4 separate regions of the Homo sapiens genome follow, and regions 1, 2 and 3 are each linked to region 4. The links are contacts of gene promoters, found by promoter capture Hi-C in human tissues and cell types (Jung and others, 2019). All regions are on one chromosome and are shown on one strand. The core of a region is centred on a gene start or on the middle of the fragment in contact, and the rest is flanking DNA. Distances in the headings are between cores, read along the strand shown. Region 1 holds the start of LOC105378345 (a long non-coding RNA gene). Region 2 has its middle 21 kb from the start of FAM241B. Region 3 has its middle 7.3 kb from the start of FAM241B. Region 4 holds the start of NEUROG3 (neurogenin 3).

Evidence for each region. Contacts are between HindIII fragments. The study calls those that stand out against the background at their distance.
Region 1: a contact is called between a fragment that was not itself captured here and the fragment with the promoter of NEUROG3 in region 4, in 4 of the 25 tissues and cell types used here (H1 embryonic stem cells, IMR-90 fibroblasts, liver and 1 more).
Region 2: a fragment that was not itself captured here is called in contact with the fragment with the promoter of NEUROG3 in region 4 in 1 of the 25 tissues and cell types used here (mesendoderm cells).
Region 3: a contact is called between a fragment that was not itself captured here and the fragment with the promoter of NEUROG3 in region 4, in 1 of the 25 tissues and cell types used here (H1 embryonic stem cells).

What each region holds. Positions count from the first base shown.
Region 1 is chr10:69,537,426-69,540,434 of GRCh38, forward strand. It overlaps LOC105378345 (a long non-coding RNA gene), which reads right to left and starts at 1,155. Exons shown (of 3, transcript XR_007062177.1): 1 at 1,067-1,155; 2 at 32-165. It also overlaps a transcript of TSPAN15 not described here. The HindIII fragment of the contact is 3,776 bases long and covers 1-3,009 here.
Region 2 is chr10:69,607,990-69,610,928 of GRCh38, forward strand. No RefSeq gene overlaps it. Among named protein-coding and RNA genes, the nearest start is that of FAM241B, 21 kb to the right of the region's middle. The HindIII fragment of the contact is 6,856 bases long and covers 1-2,939 here.
Region 3 is chr10:69,636,009-69,639,042 of GRCh38, forward strand. No RefSeq gene overlaps it. Among named protein-coding and RNA genes, the nearest start is that of FAM241B, 7.3 kb to the left of the region's middle. The HindIII fragment of the contact is 5,328 bases long and covers 1-3,034 here.
Region 4 is chr10:69,572,152-69,574,977 of GRCh38, forward strand. NEUROG3 (neurogenin 3) reads right to left here and starts at 1,271. Exons shown (of 2, transcript NM_020999.4): 1 at 1,059-1,271; 2 at 1-893. The coding sequence starts at 892. The coding sequence ends at 248. LOC101929021 (a long non-coding RNA gene) reads left to right here and starts at 806. Exons shown (of 4, transcript XR_946037.2): 1 at 806-916; 2 at 2,731-2,826. RefSeq lists an enhancer at 1-64 and a silencer at 1,322-1,541. The HindIII fragment of the contact is 13,443 bases long and covers 1-2,826 here.

The DNA of each region.
Region 1 (3,009 bases), core at 480-2,979, 34 kb before region 4:
GGCTTAGAACAACAGAAACTGATCATCTCACAATTATGGAGGCCCGAAGTCTGAGATCAAGGTGTCGTCAGGGCCAGGCTCCCTTGCTCCAGCCCTCTCTCCTGGCTTCTGGTAGTTACTTGGCTTGTGGCAGCAGAAATCCATAATCTTCACATGGCGTTTCCCCTTTTTATAAGGACAGCAGTCATCTTGGATTAGAGGCCTATCCTGCTCCACTATGACGTCATCCTAACTCATTACATCTACAATGACCCTATTTCCAAATAAGAACACATTCTGAGGTTCTGACAAGTCAGGACACCAGCATATGAATTTCTGGGAAGAACGTGATTCCGTCCCTAACAGGAAGCTCTGGAAAGAGTCCTGGCATGATCTGATGGAGGCCCAAACTAAGGAAGTGGTGGTGTGGATCCTGAGGGTGGGGACTGGGAATTGTCTTAGTTCAGGCTGCTATAACAAAATACCATAGGCTGGGGGCCTTAAGCAACAGACATTTATTTCTTACAGTTCTGGAGGCTGGAAGTCTGAGATCAAGACCTGCACGGTTGAGTTCTTGTGATGGCCCTTAGGGCAGTTGCAGACAGCCATCTTCTCACTCTGTCCTCATGTGGTAGAGAGGAAGCCCTGGAGTCTCTTCTTATAAGGGCACTAATCCCATTGTGAGGACCCCACCTTCATGACCTCATCTAAACCTAATCACCTTCCAAAGGCCCCATCACCAAATACCATCACAGTGAGTGTTAGAGCTTCAACACAGGAATGGAGGGGGGAAACAAACATTCATTCCCTAACAGGAATGGATTTGAAAGTTACTGATATGGGGGTTTGCCTGGTTTAGTGATGGCTGAATGTGGGTCGGAGAAAGAGGTAAGAGGTGATGACCCTGTCTGAGAGGTGAGGACCCCTCCTCCCAGGACCCTGGCTTTTCTGAGGGCATGAATAATGGCACCTCTGATATACAAAGGGCTGACAGAGGAGCAGGAGGTTTGTTTGAAGATATTGAGTGGTTTTAGGCCCAGGCTCTGGAGCAAGACCCCTGGGTGTGAATCCCACCTTCCCCACTTACTAGCTACAGTGGCCTTGGGTAGTCCCTTAACTTCTTGATGCCTTGAAGGGAAGTAACAACACCTGAGTCACAGGAGTGTGGGACTCCACAGAGGGTGATAATCCACGTAAAGTGCATCACTCAGCCTGGCTCACAGTCAGCACTCAGTGAGGTCACTCATGACCATCACAATGACTGACTAGAGGCTCCATAGGCAGCTGGCATGAAGGGAATTCTGGTTTGAGAGATCATGACCAGCCTGAGAGTTATTTTCCCACCTCCAGTTCCTTCCTGTGTGTTGAGAGCTTGCATGCACGTGTAGACGCCCCAGCCTGTGTGTCCAAGCTCTGTCCACAGCTCCCTGCAAAGAGCTAGATTAACTTACCCTGCAGTAGTGTGCAGTATGAAGAAAAGGGAAGCCATTCCTTGTGAGAAGCTTGAGGGAGGACTAGTCAGAGAGAGTGTGAGGACATGAAAGAAGGGACAGAGAGATTCCAAATGAAGGGGTAGTCAACAGCCTTCAATATTGAAGGGACTGGGAGTCAAATGAAGGCTGAAAAGTCCTAAATTTGGCTCATAGAGGTCCTTGGTGACATTAGCAAGGACAGTCTTTTGGAGACAGAGAGCAGTTGATAGAGTAGGAACCAGGCCTGGGGGCTTGAAGGCCTCTGAGATGGAATGGAAAACCAAATATTGTATGTTCTCATGTATAGGTGGGAGATAAGCTATGAGGACACAAAGGCATAAGAATGATATAATGGACTTCGGAGACTTGCAGGAAAGGGTGGGAGGGGAGTGAGGGATAAAAGACTACACACTGGGTATGGTGTACACTGCTCAGGTCATGGCTACACCAAAATCTCAGAAACTACCACTAAAGAACTCATTCATGTAACAAAAAAAATAGAAGAAGAAGAGGAAGAGGAAGAAGAGGAAGAGGAAGAGGAAGAAGAAGAAAGAAGAAGAAGAAGGAAGAAGAAGAAGAAGAAGAAGGAGAAGGAGAAGGAGAAGGAGAAGAAGAAGAAGAAGAAGAAGAAGAAGAAGAAGAAGAAGAAGAAGAAGAAGAAGGAGAAGGAGAAGGAGAAGGAGAAGGAGAAGAAGACTCAGCCCCTGCAGGATTAAGGAATAGAAAATTCAAAGGAAAAGGAAAAGGAACAGGGCTCCAACCAGAGAGTGTCTCTCTCATGCTGAAGAAGTCTCCAGAAATTAGTTTGGGGCTGATTCCATGGTGAGAGGAGCTCAGATTCCTTCTATTATGTTGCTCCCAGGGGAATAACCTGTCTCCAGATTTACCTCAAGACCAATACAGCTGCTCCTGCTCCAGCCATCATGTTCATGTTCCAGCTAGCAAGAAGATGGGAAAGAGTGTACAACACCCTCCTTTTAAGGAAGAAACCCAGAAACACATATATCACTTTTACTTATCTCACATAGGCTAGAGCTTAGCCCTCAGCCACACTTTGCTGCAGGGGGATGCTGGAAAATGTAGTCTTTTTTTTTTTTTGAGACAGAGTCTCACTGTCACCCAGGCTGCCATAGCCACCTGAATAGTTGGGATTACAGGCATGCACCATGATGCCCGGCTAATTTTTGTATTTTTAGTAGAGACAGGGTTTCACCATGTTGGCCAGGCTGGTCTCGAACTCCTGATCTCAAGTGATCCACCTGCCTCGGCCTCTCAAAGTGCCAAGGTGGGTGGATCATGAGGTCAGGAGATCGAGACCATCCTAGCTAACACGGTGAAACCCCATCTCTACAAAAAACATTTAAAAAAATTAGCCAGGCGTGGTGGCAGGCACCTGTAGTCCCAGCTACTCAGGAGGCTGAGGCAGGAGAGTGGTGTGAACTCGGGAGGCAAAGCTTGCAGTGAGCTGAGATTGCACCACTGCAAATGTAGTCTTTATTTTGGTGCCCATGCACAGCTTAAAATCCTCCCAAGATGAAAAAGAGGAGGATGGGTATTG
Region 2 (2,939 bases), core at 182-2,681, 36 kb after region 4:
AAAACTTTTGTATACTGAAAACTACACAATGTTGATTAAAAAATTGAAGTATTAATAATTTTAAATACATGGAGAAACACACCATGTTTATGAATGGGAAGATTCAACATAGTAAAGATGTTAATTCTGTCCAAATTGATATACAGGTTTAACACAATTCCTATTAAAATCCCAGAGAGATTTTTTGTAGATATAGACAAAATTATTCTAGAATTTATATGGAAATGCAAAGGAACTAGAATGGCAAAACAATTTTGGAAAAAAATAGTAGCTAAATCAATTAAGTCTATTTTATTTTGAGACATTATATAGCTATAGTAATCAAGGATGTGTAGAGGAATAGACACATAGATCAATGGAACAGAACAGAGAGCCCAGAAACGACCCACACAAATATGCCTAACTGATTTTTTTTTTTTTTTGAGACAGGGTGATAGGCTGGAGTGCAGTGGCATGATCTTGGCTCACTGCAACCTCTGTCTCCTGGCCTCAAACGAGCCTCCCACCTCAGCCTCCTGAGTAGCTGGGACTCTAGGTGTATGCCACCATGCCCAGCTAATTTTTGTATTTTTAGTAGAGATGAGATTTTGCCATGTTCCCCATGCTGCTCTCAAATTCCTAGGCTCAAGTGATCTGCCTGCCTTGACCTCCCAAAGTGCTGGGATTGCAGGCATGAGCCACCACTCCCAGCTCGAAGTGATTTTTAAAAATAAAGGTACAAATGCAATTAAATGAAGAAAAGGTAGCCATTTCAAGAAGTGGTGTTGAAGCCAGTGGATGTTCATAGGAAAAAGGAAAGGAAAGAAAAGAAACTCATCACTTATGCAGAAATTAAATCAACAGATTCTAGACTTAAGTGTAAACATAACATTATAAAACTTGTAGAAAAAATTATAAAAATTCTTCAGGATGTAGGGATAAAGAGCTTTTAGACATGGTGCCAAAAGCAAGAACTATAAGAGAAAAAAAATGGATAAATTGGACTTTATCAGAATTCAAAACCTGTTCTCTGTCAAAGACTCTGCTAAAAGGATGAAAAGACAAGATATGGAGTGGGGAAAGTACTTGCAAAGCCTATATCCAACAGAGGACTAATATCTAGAATATATACAGAACTCTCAAAACTAAACAGTAAAAACCCAAACAATTCAATTAGAAAATGAAGACTTAGATTCACACAAAAACTTGTACATGAATCTTTATAATAGCTTTATTCCTAATAGCCCAAACTGGAAACAGCACAATTGTTATATAATGTATAAATGGTTAAACCGTGGTATGTCCATATCATGAAATACTACTTAGCAGTGAAAAGGAATAAACTACTGATAGGCACAACAACCTAAATGAATAGAATTGCATAGAATTATACTGGGTACAAAAGCCAACTCCAAATGGTTACATACTATATGATTCCATTTATATCATACTCTTGCAATAGTAAAATTATAGAAATGGAAAACAGATTCATTGTTGACAAGGATTAAAGATGAGCTGTGGCTATAAAAAGGCAATATGAGAAGCACTGTGGTGATGAAAGTGTTCTTTATCCTGATGGTGTCAATGTCAGTACTCTGGTGGGATATTGTACTGCAGTTCTGCAAAATGTTACCACTGGAAGAAACTGTGTAAAGAGTGTGATGGATTGCTATGTATTATTTCTTAAAATAAAATATAAATATAAAGTTATCTTAAAATGTAAAACTTAATTTAAAAACACAACATCTGCTTGAATTTATTAGGGAACCAGCAAGGTAGTTATGGTAAACTGTAAGATGACTACAAATTCATCCCATGCATATCCTTCTACAGTGTGACATAGCTGTACCTGCCACTGAGAGATGCATCCCTTGAAGTGGGATGAAGAGTTTATTTCTCCATCTCTGGAAATGAATATGAGCCAGGTGCAGTAGCTTGTACTGTAATCCCAGCACTTTGGGAGGCTCAGGTGGGAGGATTGCTTGAGGCTAGGAGTTTGAGATCAGCCTGGGTGACAGAGCAAGACCCAATTTCTACAATTTTTTAAAAAAAATTTAAAAAAAGAAACTGATGTGTATTGACCAATGGGACATGAACAAACACAATTCAAGCATAAGTTTTAAAAGCACTTCTTCAGAAACAAGGAAAGGATGTCCCGTCTCACCACTGCTTTTCAACATCATACTGGAAGTCCTAGCTAATGCAATAAGAAAAGGAAAAAAGGTGTACAGATTATGAATTAAGAAAGAAAACTCCTTGTTTCATCTGAAATCTGAAAGAAATCTGAAAGAACTGACCAAAAAACCCCTCCTGGAAATAATAAGCCATTATAGCAAGGTTGTAGGATACAAGGTCAATATACAAAATTCAATCACTCTCCTATATACCAGCAATGAATAAGTGGAATTTAAAATTAAAAGCACAACATCAAGTACATTAGCATCCCCCAAAATAAAATATTCAGGTGTAAATCTAACAAAATATGTATAAGATCTACACGAGGAAAACTACAAAACTCTTGTGAAAGAAATCAAAGAAGAACTAAATAAATTGAGAGATATCCCATGTTCATGGATAGGAAGACTCAATATTATCAAGATATCAGCTCTTCCCAATTTGATTCAACACAATCTCAATGTAAATCCCAGCAAGTTGTTTTGTGGTTATTGACAAACTGATTCTAAAGTTTACATGGGTAGGCAAAAGTCTCAGAATAGCCAACACAATATTGAAGGGGAATTAAAAAGTTCAAGGACTAACATTACCTGACTCCAAGACTTACTATAAAACTGCAGTAATCAAGACAGTGTGGTATTTGTGAAAGAATAGACAAGTAGATCAATGAAACAGAATAAAGAGTGCAGAAATAGACCCACATAAGTATAATCAACTGATCTTTGACAACAGAGAAAAAGCAGTACAACAGAGAAAAGAGAGTCTTTTCAACAAATGGTGCTAGA
Region 3 (3,034 bases), core at 47-2,546, 64 kb after region 4:
GCGTCTGTCCACTTGGATGCCTGAACCTGAGGACAGGGGAGGAAAGCCGCCCCTGCGCTCTGGCTCACCGGGTGGCACAGGAGGCCTGTTTGCAGGCCTGGCTCTGCTCTTTGTGGACAGTTCACTCAGCCTCTTGAGCCTTGGTTTCCTCATCCCTGTGAAGGGATGATGATCTGGGACCTGCCCGCCTCTCAGAGCCTTTCAGGGGATCACTGAAAGCATGGTGGGTAGGAGGTGGGCAGAGGGCCGTGGAGAGGGGGACTGCGCCTGCCCCTGAGCTGCCTCTGCAGGTGCTGCACCATGGCCCACAGCTTCTGTACTGGCAGCTTTGGCTCCAGAGTGGCTGCCTTGTCCAAGGCACCTGGGATCCCTGGCTGGGGCGGTGCTGGGCTTTTAAGAGCAGAGTTGCCCCTCCCGCAGCTGTTAGAGAAGAAACACAGCCACTTCGCTGTGCTCCTGAAAGCTGAGGGGCTTGTTGCTGGTGTTGAATGTCAGGACTGGATGCTGTTTGTTGAGAGTGTATGGAGTGCCTGGCCCTGTGCTAAGCACGTTATGTCATTTAATTGTCACTAGCACCTTATGACATAAATATTGTCACTGTCATCTTTATTTCACGACAGAGGACATGGCAGAGGGTTTATAACTTGCTGTAGGACCCAGAGCGAGCTGGGTGGAGCTAGGATTCAGAGACCTACAGCCCTTGCTCTTGACCACTCCTCTCTTTTACCTCTGGCCGTACCTGCATCAGCATCGCCTAGAAACCTGCAGATACAGATGCCCAGCTGTACTACCTGCTAAGACCTGCCTGCAGCCCCATGAGATCAGCTGTGTGGGGGCAGAGGGCACAGAAGTTGGTGCAAGGGTGCTGGCTGCAGCTGCCCAGCTGGGTGGCCTCAGTGGCTTCCCAGTCCTGGGTCACAGTCATGGAGATTTAGCTCTCTTCCCTGCATTCCCGAATGCATATTTTCATTGCAAAGTGACAAATCCAGTGATCTCTCAAAGGGTTAAGTGGGGGCAGGGGAGGGAGGCAGCAGAGCTCTGCTGCCAAAACTAGATAGAGAACCTGCAGCCTGCCCAGCCAGTAGGACAAGCAAGCCTACCCCGCCTGGTGCTGCCACCCAGTGCCCAAAAGAGCAGCAAGAGAAAGTTCAAGAAGCAGGTAGAGTGAGAGCTTCAAAGAATTACAAAGGGGGTGTGTATGGAGGGGTGTATGTGTGTGCCTCTGAGCCTCTGGTTTGAGGCTGGGGGCAGGGCTGAAACCAAATGGCTTTAGGGACTCAGAGTTTGGAAGGAGAAGGTTGGAGCTACTTGAGATGAAGCTGGAGGGCCACTGCCCCAAGTGCCCAGGCAGGTGGGGCACAGGGCTGGGAGCCAGGGCTGGTCTGCATTGGCCCAGCGGCCAGCTCCAGTCCCTCTGGTGGGCGGGGGCCCTGCTGGGGGCTGAATGCCTGCTTCCCATTCCCGGCTTCAGCTCTGTTAACCAGAGGCCTTGGCACAACCCAGCATCTCCCTAAACCTCCGTGTCCTCATCTGCACCTCCCACAGTGAGAGGATCAAGTACATTAATTCATGGGAAGCACTTAGCCGTTTCTGGCACAAGTTAGTGCTCAATGTTACTGTATTCACAGAGAAATGGTATTAGGACTCACTTAACATTTTTTTTTTTAACAGCAGCTCACATCTTAAATTAATTTTTTAAAAGGAAGCTTCATATTACTATTGTAAATGGAAAGCCAATACTACTTGCCATTCACAGTAGGTATTCGTACAAATGAATCCAGGACAAAACGAATGATATTCCATTTTAGCTAGTCACTGCCATTGTCCAAGCCCTTAGCCTGATGCCTGCTTTCTTTGTTAAAAAAGTCAGTTTATGAAGATTGGGAGTGGTGCAGAAGCCTCACTGGCCCCTCACTGAGACATTCTCCTCGATGGATTCAGAGGACTGAAGAGAAACAAAGAGGAATGACTTCCTCACCATCCGATTCGGTGCTGTGTTTGTAAATTGCTTATAATCATCTTGTGCACCACCCCAAATCATTTCACTCCCTGGCGGGTAAGAGTACCCCACAACTGCGGGAAACATGGTATGATCTTGAGCAAGCTATTTTAAAAGTCTTACTCTTTGTAAAGTAATGCATTCGTGTGGTTCAGATGATATAATGTACAAATGTATATAGAGAAAAGCCTTTCTCCCTCCTCTGTCCCCATCCATCCATCCCTCCTCCACTCCACTATAACTACTGTTCTTAGTGTCTTCTAAATACTTCCAGAATTTAGTTATGCAAATATGAGCAAACATGAATATACTATTTTTTCTTTTTTTATACAAATAATAGAAAAATTTGACACGTTTTTCTCTGCCTTTTGCATTTTTCACTTAGCAGTGTATCTTGGCACATTTTATATGAGTACATGAAGAGCATTTTCATCCTGCAGTATTTTGGTGTTTGAGTTGTCGACCCTGTCTTGGGCTCACCTGTACCATGGGGGATTGACTCAGTTGACCCTCAGGGCCTTGCAGCTCTGACCCTGAACCAACCCATGGGGTTTTTCCCTGAAATGTGGGGATCTTGACAGAACTGTCTCCCTTTCTCCAGGGCCCAAGGGGAGATATCACAACCTTATAGGGTTTCTCAGTCTCCTTTGCAGTTGGATAGGGTGCAATTTCTGCCCTCATCTGGCTCCTTGAAAAGGCGCAGTGGCCTCACCTGAACACTGCCTCCTGGGTCACACTGCACCCTGAGACGAGCTGAGAGGGACTCCCCACAACCTCTGACAGGCAGGGAGTGACCCCCGCCTGGCCTCCCTCATTCTGGAAAAACAAACAGGCTGGGCTAGACTTCCACGAAGGCCCCTTTCAGCTCTGAGACCGACACCTACCACAGAGGGCCTTGCCCTTAGTAGACGCTTGATGGACTTTGCTGCTGCCTGGCCTGGCATTGCCAACGTCATTGTCCAACACGTTGCTGTCCCCACTTCCTCTAACACCCCATTTTCTTTCTTTTTTAAAAAAAATTAACTTTTCAGTTCA
Region 4 (2,826 bases), core at 21-2,520:
CACTTTGCAATGCCCACTTCGCGCGGGCAGCAGCAAGGGTTGCGTGCGTTGGCGCGGCTCGGAGGGCCGGGGAATGAACCCAGCCTGCCGCCCCCGTGGAGGCCTGGGCCGGCCAGGGGTCAGCCAGGGAGAAGCAGAAGGAACAAGTGCTTTTGAGGGCCGCCGCCGTCGGCCACCCTCTACGGCTCCCGGCTCCCTCCCTCTCCCTTACCCTTAGCACCCACAGCCCAGCGACAGACAGGTCCTTTCACAGAAAATCTGAGAAAGCCAGACTGCCTGGGCTCAAGCAGGCGGAAAAGGTGGCCCCCAGCAGCCCGGGTCGCTCCTCCAGCGACGCGGCGGGACTCAGGCTGCCAGCCTGGGAGACTGGGGAGTAGAGGGACCCCCAGTCCCCGGGGGAACCGCCTGGGCTGCCCAGCTCCCCGCAGTGCGGCGCCGGCGGCTCCAGCGCGTACAAGCTGTGGTCCGCTATGCGCAGCGTTTGAGTCAGCGCCCAGATGTAGTTGTGGGCGAAGCGCAGCGTCTCGATCTTGGTGAGCTTCGCGTCGTCTGGGAAGGTGGGCAGGACACCGCGCAGGGCGTCCAGTGCCGAGTTGAGGTTGTGCATTCGATTGCGCTCGCGGTCGTTGGCCTTCTTTCGCCGACTCCGTCGCTGCTTGCTCAGTGCCAACTCGCTCTTAGGCCGGCTGCGTCCCCCGCGCCGTGCCCGGAGCTTCCTCGGGGCCCCTCGGCAGCCTCCCTCTTCCGCCTCTGCGCAGTTCCCCCGTGTGCGAGTGGGGCTGGGCGGGGCGGACGTGGGGCAGGTCACTTCGTCTTCCGAGGCTCTGGGGAAGGACCGCTCCGTCTCACGGGTCACTTGGACAGTGGGCGCACCCGAGGGTTGAGGCGTCATCCTACGGCGGGGTCAGAGGGAAGGGTAAGTTTGAGTCCGTCACTGGGCGCAGTCCGCGATTCCGAGGCTAGGTGGGAAAAAACAAAAACAGCCATCCTCCCAGCCCCCGCTGGGTCAGAGGATCCCTCTTTCCCCTGCCCGTCCCTCGGAGGCCTCCAAATATTACCTTTCTACCGGCGCAAAAGAATAGAGAGCGATGAGCAGCGAGGGCCGTGGGGAGCTCAGCGGGCTTCTGGTCGCCAAGTTCAGCTGAGCTGCAGGCGCCCCCGCCTGGGAGTTGCCCCAGCCCCAAAGGAGAAAAGAAGAGAGAATGGGGTCCGAGGCCTCTGTCACGCTCTCTCTCGAGGCGCGGCGGTGAGACCGCAGGGATTTCCTGAGCAGCAAGTCGTGTGCCCCTTGGCACGCTTTATCTGCTTCGCCCGGGCCAGGAGCGTGCCTGCCCGGCTGCTGCCCGCGCCACCGGCCAATCAGCGCCGGGGCCCTGGGGCCGCGCCACGCGAGCCCGCTCCTCCCCCGCAGGGCACAGCTGGATTCCGGACAAAGGGCCGGGGTCGGGGGAGGGGAGCGCCGCTCTGTTTGCTCTCTCGAGGGCGGGCTGGGTCCCAGCAACTCTCGGTTCCTCAAAGAGCCTCGCCCAGTGAGAAGAGCCTCGTGTGGCTCTGGTCAGGCCACCTCAGACGGCTTTGCTCCTAGCCTATCTTTCCTTAGCATCTGTCCTGGAGGGGACTTTGATGCCTCTAGGGTACAATGCCTGCACGTTACACATGGGGAAATTTAGGCTTAGTGAGGGAGGTGGCTTGTCTGAAATCGCACAGGAAGATAGTGGCAAAGACAACCACGAGCTCATTGTCCTGACTAGCAGCCTGGAGAAGGGTCCAGGAATTCTAAAGGACGCCCTGCTCTCCTGGTGTTTCACTGCCTCTCTTCATCCTGGAAGACAGGGGACATCACTGAGAGAGATCCTGCCTATGTCCCTTCCATTCGCAGACCTTTTGGGGGTGTCCGAGCCTCTGCCACACCCTGAGATGCTACCTCACACTCCCCAGAGGCGCTTAGAACCCCACCCCCATAGATCCCACTCCAGAGGCAGGGGTTGGCTGTGCGGGGACCCCTCAAGCGGACATTCCATTACTACAAGCCTACTACAGCTTGTAGATAGTATCCCAGCGTTCTGGCCAGGAACCGTGACAGGAAGAGTTCTGGGAAGTGTGAGGAGGGGAGGAAGGAACCAGGAGTTCACAGTGAGCTCTTGCTTCTTTTTTTTTTTAAACGAACAAACAAAACCAAAAAACGGTCTCCTTCTGTCGCCCAGGCTGGACTGCAGTGGTGCAATCACAGCTCACTGCAGCCTTGATCTCCTGGGCTCAAGCTATCCTCCCACTTCAGCCTTCCCAGTAGCTGAGACTACAGGCATGCGCCACTGTGCCCGGCTAATTTATTTGTATTTTTATTTTGTATGGGGTGAGGGGCGGTCTTGCTTTGTTGCCCAGGATGGTCTCGAACTCCTGGGCTCAAGCGTTCCTTTCACTTCAGTCTCCCAAGGCGCTGGGAAGCAGAGCTGCTGTGCCCCTCCCCCTCGTGTCTTTTGAACTACCACAGCGTGCAGGCACTGGGAGAAGCTGATAAACTTTTTCTCCCCTTAGTCCTCCGGTCCAATCACAGACAGACAGCAGCTGCCAGCAGTCACCTGCTCCAGCCCCCTGCCTCTGCATCACTCGGGCATCGCACAGAGAGCACAAGGCAGGGACTTCCCCAGCCCCTTGGGTTGTCCCTGGTAGCGCTCTCTGGAAACCTTTCCAAAGGGACTCTGAACTCATCATCCCTCCTTTCTTCCCCAGCCCCTCCTCTTGTCCCCGCCTGGGACATCCCGTGGTCTTCTGCTTCCGGTCACTCAGAGTGAGGGGTTGCAGCTTCCGCTTCTCTCTCTTGACCCG